Linked DNA regions of Homo sapiens: region 1 is linked to region 2. Evidence: promoter capture Hi-C in human tissues and cell types (Jung and others, 2019). All regions are on one chromosome and are shown on one strand. The core of a region is centred on a gene start or on the middle of the fragment in contact, and the rest is flanking DNA. Distances in the headings are between cores, read along the strand shown.

The links. Contacts are between HindIII fragments. The study calls those that stand out against the background at their distance.
Region 1: a fragment that was not itself captured here is called in contact with the fragment with the promoter of NIPAL2 in region 2 in 3 of the 25 tissues and cell types used here (bladder, hippocampus and mesendoderm cells).

What each region holds. Positions count from the first base shown.
Region 1 is chr8:98,345,502-98,350,385 of GRCh38, forward strand. It overlaps a transcript of STK3 not described here. Among named protein-coding and RNA genes, the nearest start is that of MIR9903, 46 kb to the right of the region's middle. The HindIII fragment of the contact is 6,049 bases long and covers 1-4,863 here.
Region 2 is chr8:98,292,985-98,296,836 of GRCh38, forward strand. NIPAL2 (NIPA like domain containing 2) reads right to left here and starts at 1,251. Exons shown (of 11, transcript NM_001321635.2): 1 at 1,019-1,251. The coding sequence starts at 1,153. All of the region lies in intron 5 of LOC105375659 (a long non-coding RNA gene), which reads left to right. RefSeq lists a silencer at 771-1,490. The HindIII fragment of the contact is 9,267 bases long and covers 1-3,852 here.

The DNA.
Region 1 (4,884 bases), core at 589-3,088, 53 kb after region 2:
AAGAAATTGGAGTGATGTCATCTAGGGAAAGGCGGTCCAAAAAAGAGCCACCTAAAGGCTGGAGGAAGAATCGTCTGAAAATATTAGAGGGAACAGTATCTGATGTTCACATAGGACTGGAAATAGTGTCTGTTCTGAACCAGGCATGGAAAGAGGCAGGAAAACACAACCTATAATGAGGAAAATAATTAATCAGTAGAAACCATCCCCAGACTGACACAGATGTTGGAATTAGCAGAACAGGACACCAAAATAGTTTTTATTTTGAGTTCTTCTATATTTCAAAAAGTTAAATAGAAATGTGGAAAATATAAAAGATCCAAATTGAATTTCTAGAGATGAAAACTACAATGCCTGAGATTAAAATACACTGGATGGAACTGATGGCAGACTAGGCATTTCAGGAGAGAAAAGATTCATTGGACTTGAAGATCGAGGTATAGAAACTACCTAAAATGAAACGCAGAGAGAAGAAATAGTTTCAAAAGTTAACAGAGCTGTCCGGGCATGGTGGGTGCTCACACCTGTAATCCCAGCACTTTGGGAGGCCAAGGTGGGCTAATCACCTGAGGTGAGGAGTTCAAGACCAGCCTGGCCAACATGGTGAAACCCCATCTCCACAAAAATACAAAAATTAGCCAGGCATGATCTTGGGTGCCTGTAATCCCAGCTACTCAGGAGGCTGAGGAGGGAGAATTGCTTGAACCTGGGAGGCAGATGTTGCACTGAGCTGAGATCACGCCATTGCACTTCGGCCTGGGTGACAGAGCAAGACTCCGTCTCAAAAAAAAAAAAAAAAATGTTAACAGAGCATCAGTGGTGGGACAACTCCAACAGCCTAATATAACTGTCATTGGAGCACCAAAGGAGAGGAGGGGGAGTAGGAGACTTGAAAAAATATTTGAGGAAATAATGTCCAAATTTTTTTTTCAAATTTAATGAATACTATAAACTCATAAATCCAAGAAGCTCAATGAACACCAAGTAAAAGAAACATGAAGAAAAGCATATGAAAATAAAATTTCATAAAAGCACATCAGTATAAAATGTGTCAAAAACCATTGATAAAGAGAAATCATAAAATCATCCAGAGATAAAAGACCACAACATTCAAAGGGACAAAGATAAGGATAACAGCAGATTTCTCCTTGGGAGAAATACAAGTGAGACAGTTGTATCAATCTAGAATACTATACTCAGCAAAGCTATCTGTCAAAAACAAAAGTGAAATAAAAACTTCTTCAGACACAAAAATCTGAAAGAATTTATCTCCAGCAGGCCTACACTGTAAGAAATGTTATAGGAAGTTTCAGGCAGAAAAAAAAAAGATACCACATATAGATACGGGTCTACACAACAGAATAAAGAACATTGGAAATGGTAGCTACATATATATGTGTATAAAACTTTTCCTTATCATTTAAATGCCTTTAAAATATAATTATATTTTTAAGCAAAAATAATAATAATGTATTGTATTGTAGGGTTTACAATATATGTGAAAACAAAATGTATAGCTAACAATACCACAAAGCCCATAAAAGGAGAAGTGGAAGAAAGGATTTTATACTATACATAAAAATGCTATAATATCACTTGAAGGTAGAATGTAAAATGTTAGAGATGTATATTATAAACCCTATAGCAGCCACTAAATAACAAAACAAAGAGTTATAGCTAATAAACCAAGGAAAAAGATGATAAAAATATTTTTTAAAAAACCAGCGTATTGGCCGGGCACGGTGGCTCACGCTTGTAATCCCAGCACTTTGGGAGGCCGAGGCGGGCGGATCACGAGGTCAGGAGATCAAGACCATCCTGCCTAACACGGTGAAACCCCGTCTCTACTAAAAATACAAAAAAATTAGCCGGGCGTGATGGCGGGCGCCTGTAGTCCCAGCTACTCGGGAGGCTGAGGCAGGAGAATGGCGTGAACCCAGGAGGCAGAGCTTGCAGTGAGCCAAGATTGCGCCACTGCACTCCCGCCTGGGCCACAGAGCGAGACTCCGTCTCAAAAAAAAACAAAAAAAACCAAAAAAAACCACAGCGTATTAATCCAAAAAAGGCAGAAATCGAGAAAAATGGAACAAAGGACAGCTGGGACAAATAGAAAAAAATTACAATGATGAACTAAAGTCTACCCATATCAACAATACATTAAATATAAATGTTGAAACAATCTCAATTAAAAGGCAGAGATTGTCAGAGTGGATAAAAAAGCAAGACTGACCTATATGTTGCCTATAGGAAACATACATTAAATGTTAAGATACAAATAGATTAAAGGTAATAGGATGATAGAAAGACAAAGTCTTGTCAAGATATTCGTTCTTTCCAGCTTGTTGTAAAGATTCATCACAATTCAAAAAAAATTAAAAGTCCCTGCAAGATATTTTGTAATATCAACAGAGATTCTAAAGTTTATATGGAGAGGCAAAAGACCCAGAATAGCCAACACAATATTGAGGGACAAGAAAAAAGTAAACCTGATACTGCTTAACTTCAAGACTTACTATAAATCTACGATAATCAAGACTGATATTGGTGAGAGAATCGACAAATAGAACAATGGAATTGAATAGAGAGCTCATAAATAGACCCTCATGAATATAGTTAACTAATCTTTGACAAATGAGCAAAGGCAATGCAATGAGGAAAAGACAGTCTTTTCAACAAATGATACTGGAATAATTGGATATCCATATATAAAAAGATGGAACTAGACAAAGACTTTACATCCTTCACAAACAGTAGCTCAAAATGGATCATAAGCTTAAATGTAAAATCCAAAACTATAAAACTAGAAGAGTTAATAAAAGAAAAAGAAAGAAAGAAAATCTAGATGACCTGGGATTTGGCAATAACTTTTAGATGCAACACCAGAACCACAATCCATGAAACAAAGAATTGATAAACTGGTGTTTACTAAAATTAAAGACTTCTGCTTTGCAAAAGACATTGTCAAGAGAATGAGAAGACAAACCACAGATGGGGAGAAAATATTTGCAAAAGACGCATTTAATAAAGGGCAGTTATCCAAAATACACCAAGAATTTTAAAACTGAACATTAAGAAAACAAACAACCTGATTTAAAAGTGGGCAACAGATCTGAACAAGCATCTCAACAAAAATATACAGATGGCAAATAAGTGTATGAAAAGATGTTCAACATTATATGTCATTAGGGAATTTCAAGTTAAAACAGCAATGAGACATTGATTAGAATGTTGAAAATTCAAGACACTGATAACACCAAATGCTGACAAGGATGTGGAGCAACAAGTACTCTCATTCATTGCTGTGGAAATGTAAAATGGTACAGTCACTTTGGAAGGTATTTTGGCAGTTTCTTACAAAACTAAACATACTCTTACCAAACAATACAGCAATAATGCTCCCTGGTATTTACCAAAAGAAGTTGAAAACTTATGTTCATGCAAAAATCTGTGCATGATGTTTATAGCAGCTTTATTTATAATTGCCCAAACTTGGAAGCAACCATGATGTCCTTCAGTAGGTGAATGGATAAATAAATGGTGGTACATCCAGACAATAGAATATTATTTGGTGCTAAAGAGAAATGAGCTATTAAGTCATGAAAACACATAGAGGGAACTTAAATGTGTATTCCTATAAGAAGCCTGTCTGAAAGGCTGCATACTTTTGATTCCAACTATATGACATTCTAGAAAAGGCAGAACTACAGAGATGGTAAAAAGATCAGTGGTCATCAGGGGTTGGGAGAGGGAGAGATGAAAAGGAGAGGTATAGAGGATTTGTAGGGCAGTGAAACTACTCTTTGACTCCATGTCTTATATCCAGGTAATGCCGATGCAAGAGGTGGGCTCCCATGGTCTTCGGCAGCTCTGCCCCTGTGGCTTTGCAAGGTGTGGCCTCCCTCCCAGCTGCTTTCACAGGGTGGTGTTGAGCATGGCTTTTCCAGGTGCACAGGGTAAGCTGTTGGTGGATCTACCATTCTGGCTCTGGAGGATGGTGGCCCTCTTCTCCCAGCTCCACTAGGCAGCACCCCAGTGGGGACTCTCTATGGGGGACCCACTCCACATTTCCTTTCTGCACTGCCCTAGCAAAGGTTCTCTATGAATACCTCACCCCAGCAGCAAACTTCTATCTGGACATCCAGGCATTTCCATACATGCTCTGAAATCTAGGCTGAGGTTCCCAAACCTCAATTCTTGACTTCTGTGTACCTGCAGGCTCAACACCACAAGGCTTGGGACTTGCACCCTCTGAAGCCATGGCCTGAGTTGTACATTGGCCCTTTTTAGTCATGGCTGGAGCAGCTGGGACACAGGGCACCAAATCCCTAGACTGCACACAGCAGAGGGACCCTAGGCCCAACCCATGAAACCATTTTTTTCTCCTAGGCCTCCAGGCCTGTGATGGGAGGGGCTGCCACAAAGGTCTCTGACATGCCCTGGAGACATTTTCCACATTGTCTTGGTGGTTGACATTTGATTCCATGTTACTTATGCAAATTTCTGCAGCCAGCTTGAATTTCTCCTCAGAAAATGGGATTTTCTTTTCTATTGCATTGTCAGGCTGCAATTTTTCCGAACTTTTATGCTGTGCTTCTCTTATAAAACTGAATGCCTTTAACAGCACCCAAGTCACCTCTTGAATGCTTTGCTGCTTAGAAATTTCTTCTGCCAGATACCCTAAATCATCTCTCTCAAGTTCAAAGTTCCACAAATCTCTAGGGCAGGGGCAAAATGCCACCAGTCTCTTTGCTAAAACATAACAAGAGTCACCTTTGCTCCAGTTCCCAACAAGTTCCTTATCTCCATCTGAGACCATCTCAGCCTGAATTTCATTGTCTGTATCATTATCAGCATTTTGGTCAAAGCCATTCAAAAAGTCTCTGG
Region 2 (3,852 bases), core at 1-2,500:
CTTGAAAACTAATAAAGTGAACATGCTTATTTATCTTACTTATTCTTTATACAAATATATTCTCTTCTGCATTCAGAAATTAATATTTAGAACACTTCAGGCATAAAAGGAATCCAGATCTTTGATAATTGGTTAAACTCTCCGATTTAGGACAACAGCAACAAATATTTTCTGATTATATTGTTGCAAAAATAAAAGTATCCATGGTTTTGTTAAAGAACAAGAACAAAGTAACACATTTAATGAAAACAGGAGGAAGCCTGGAATCCACCGTGATAAAACTTAGTTGCAATATGAACGCTGCTAGAGGAAGGGCTGGCCAGAACACTTCCTCATCTTAAACCAAGCCAAAAATAAATGGGCGGCTCCAAGTCCCTTTGATTTTGTTAAATGTATATTTCCAGTGTAAACTGGCGTTGTTTAAGTTAACAAAGTTTTCCCAAAGGGCCGGTGGGAAAGAATGAGAGTCCTGCAAATGCAACCTGAGAAAATGTGTTCCTCGCACGGAAATGGAAGAGCTGTGTTGAGATACCAGGGACACACGCAGGGCATCTGCGCGAGGTGACATTAGGCTGCCCTTAATGAGTTTTCTGCTTCTGATAACAGGGTGTCACTTTTTTCTTTTCTTTTAACTGTAAAAGGATCCTGGGGTGAAAATGAGTGAATTGCCCCCACACTCCTAGATTCCTTCCGGGAGAAGAGGGCGGACGCAGGCTGGGGAGGCGGGATCGGGACCCGGAGGTCCCAGGAACGGGTGGCTGAGGTCAAGGCCGAAGACCTGGGCGCCCACTCCCAGTGCCGGGTGCCCGGGAGAGGAAGACTGGGCGGACCCCCGCGCTTCCGGATGAGGCGGACTTAGGTCAATGCGGGAAACATTGCATGTCACCTCTTCCCACTCGGAGAGGCCGGGTGTCTTCCTGAGAGCTGGCAGGAAAGCGGCCGAGGCGCAGAGGCGCCCGGAGCCAGCCGCCCTGGCCGCGTCCCCACCGGGCTGCGGTGGCTGCGGGGCGGCCCTTACCTGGTTCCTGCGGTACCAGTCGCCCGAGAGGGAGCCGTTGCCGGCGCCTGGTGCCCCGTACGTGAAATTCAGTGACAGCTCGTCCAGGGCGGCCGAGGCGGAGTCCCCGGGGCCCGCGGGCGCCACCGCTGCCATGAGGTCTCGCTCCCGGCGCTCGGGCTCCGGCTCGGGCTGCGGCCGCCTCCCCGCCCTGTTGCACCGCGAGGAGGCCGCGCCGCAGCCACTTCCTGCTCGGTGCCCGGGCGAGGCGGGCGCGCCGAGGCCACCTGGCTCCCGCCCCCGCGCGGCCGTAGGTGCTCCCAGCCTGGCCGGGCGCTGCCTCCTCTCCTCCTCCGGTGCGAGGTGTCCTCGGGGAGCCCGGCGGTCTGCGGCCTCCCGGGGCCGTCCAGCTCGCACCGCGCCCTCCTTCCGCTGGGCCAGTGTCTGCATCCTCGGGGCCGCACTGCCCAAGGGGGCAATCCCCGCGGCCGTCCGCAACGGGTCCCCGCGCCTGTCGGGGCCAGAATCAGATCATCTCCGTTGTAAACATTTGTCCAAGTCAATGGAAGAGGAGGAGACACTGACTAACCCAAAGCAGCTATCATCTCCCATCTCTACCTGGCAATTCCAGTCCTCTATCACATATGTAGTGTTTCTCACCGATATTTTAAAAATTGATTGCATATGAAAAAGTCATGAGTTCCCAGAAATATTGTAAGCAATATGAGAAAAAAAGATCCGAGCGATTGAATCTCAGTGCCAGTGCTTGATAGATCCTTAGTAAATATTCCTTGAATGAGGAATGTGGTAGCCATAGGACCCCAGTGTGCGATGACTGGATTGGGTTTGCTTCAGATGGGATCAGGTGGAGTTGCTGAAAAGTTGCCAGCTACTGTATATATGAATTTAGGATGAAAGATAAATGTTGTTATTAATCTTAAGAACTCTAACGAGATGTTCTGGTTTTACCTGTATTCAAATTCTAATGTGTGACCACAAATGATCTGTAGGGTATTTCTCACTTTAAAAAAACCATGATTCTATACTGTTGCCTGAAGGCTGATAGTTGCCTTCTTTTGTTTACACAATGCTGAGGTTTTTCTTAGATAATGTGCTTTGACTTCCATGAGTTCATGAAAGAGAGACCTTCAAGAAAAGAGAATTGCTGCCTAGAAGGGAGCAGGGACAGTTTTCAGTGTTTCTTAGGGGAAATGTGCAAATGAGAGAAAAGAGTGAGAAAAAGTCATTTCACATACAGAAAAAACAAGACATGTCGTCTCAGAAATTGTGTAGTTTCTTGCTTAAGCACTCGAGATGTTCAGTGAACAGCTAACAATTGTAGGTAACTATTCCCAATTTTAAGAGGCTGATTTACTTCAAATAAATATCTGAAGGAAAAAGGTCTCTATTTGTTATATTACATTTTATTTTATTTTTTGAGACAGGGTCTTGCTCTGTTGCCCAGGCTGGAGTGCAGTGGTGTGATCTTGACTCACTTTAGCCTCATATTCCTGGGCCCAAGTGATCCTCCCACCTGGGACTACATACAGGTGCATGCCACCATGCCCAGCTAATTTTTTTTTTTTTTAGATAGAGTCTCTCTCTCTTGCCCAGGCTGCAGTGCAGTGGCACAATCTCAGCTCACTGCAACCTCTGCCTCCTGGGTTCAAACAATGCTCCTGCCTCAGCCTCCTGAGTAGCTGGGACTACACGTGCACACCACCAAGCCCGGCTAATTTTTGTATTTTTAGTAGAGACAGGGTTTCACGGTGTTGGTCAGGCTGGCCTCAAGCTCCTAACCTCCAGTGATCCCCCTGTCTTGGCCTCCCAAAGTGCTGGGATTACAGGTGTGAGCCACCACACCTGGCCCTGGCTAATATTTTTCTATTTTTTTGTAGGGACAGGGTCTCGCAATTTTTCCTAGGCTGGTCTAGAACTCCTGGCCTCAAACAGTTGTCCCACCTCGGCCTCCCAAAGTGGTGGGATTACAGGTGTGAGCTGCCATGCCTTGTCTGATAAGTTTTCTATAACATCACATTCATTGATATTGGTGACTTCATTAATGCTTCTTTCTCTTCACATGCTTTAGGGTGCAAGTAACAGAGTATCCAAATAAAAGTGGCTTAAACAATAATTATCTGCTATCTCCAGAGGAATGTGTCTCTATGTGGTTCTATTATGTCGTCACTTCCACCTTTCTGCTCTGCTATCCCTGAGGTACTGGTCTTGTCCATTGAGGGAGGAAAGCCTTTTCCAGAATCCTCCTGGCATCCTTTCACCTCAGATCCCATTGGCTGGGACTGGGTCACATGCCCATGTTCTACCAGCAAGGGAGGCTGGGAAAGTGATTCTTGGGTATTTCCAACCTAGTGAGAGGTAAGCTCTACCAACCAGGATGAGTGGGAATGCCATGGGGTTATGGGGGAGGGGAACCAGTCAACCCTGGTACAACCACTCTAGTATTTTTCTATCAGCCAGATTGTAAGTAGTTGTACAGTTGCTAACAAGCAAAATACTAAATGGATTGTGTTACTTTCTGGTTTAAAATGCCTTGAAGCCTCCCTATTGCCATAATGAAGTCCACACTTTTTTTTTTTTTGAGACAGAGTCTTGCTCTGTCACCCAGGCTGGAGTGCAGTGGCACAATCTCGGCTCACTGCAAGCTCCGCCTCCCGAGTTCACGCCATTCTCCTGCCTCAGCCTCCTGAGTAGCTGGGACTACAGATGCCCGCCACCACGCCCAGCTAATTTTTTGTATTTTTAGTAGAGTCTGGGTTTCATCGTGTTAGCCAGGATGGTCTCGATCTCCTGACCTCATGATCCACCCACCTCAGCCTCCCAAAGTGCTGGGATTA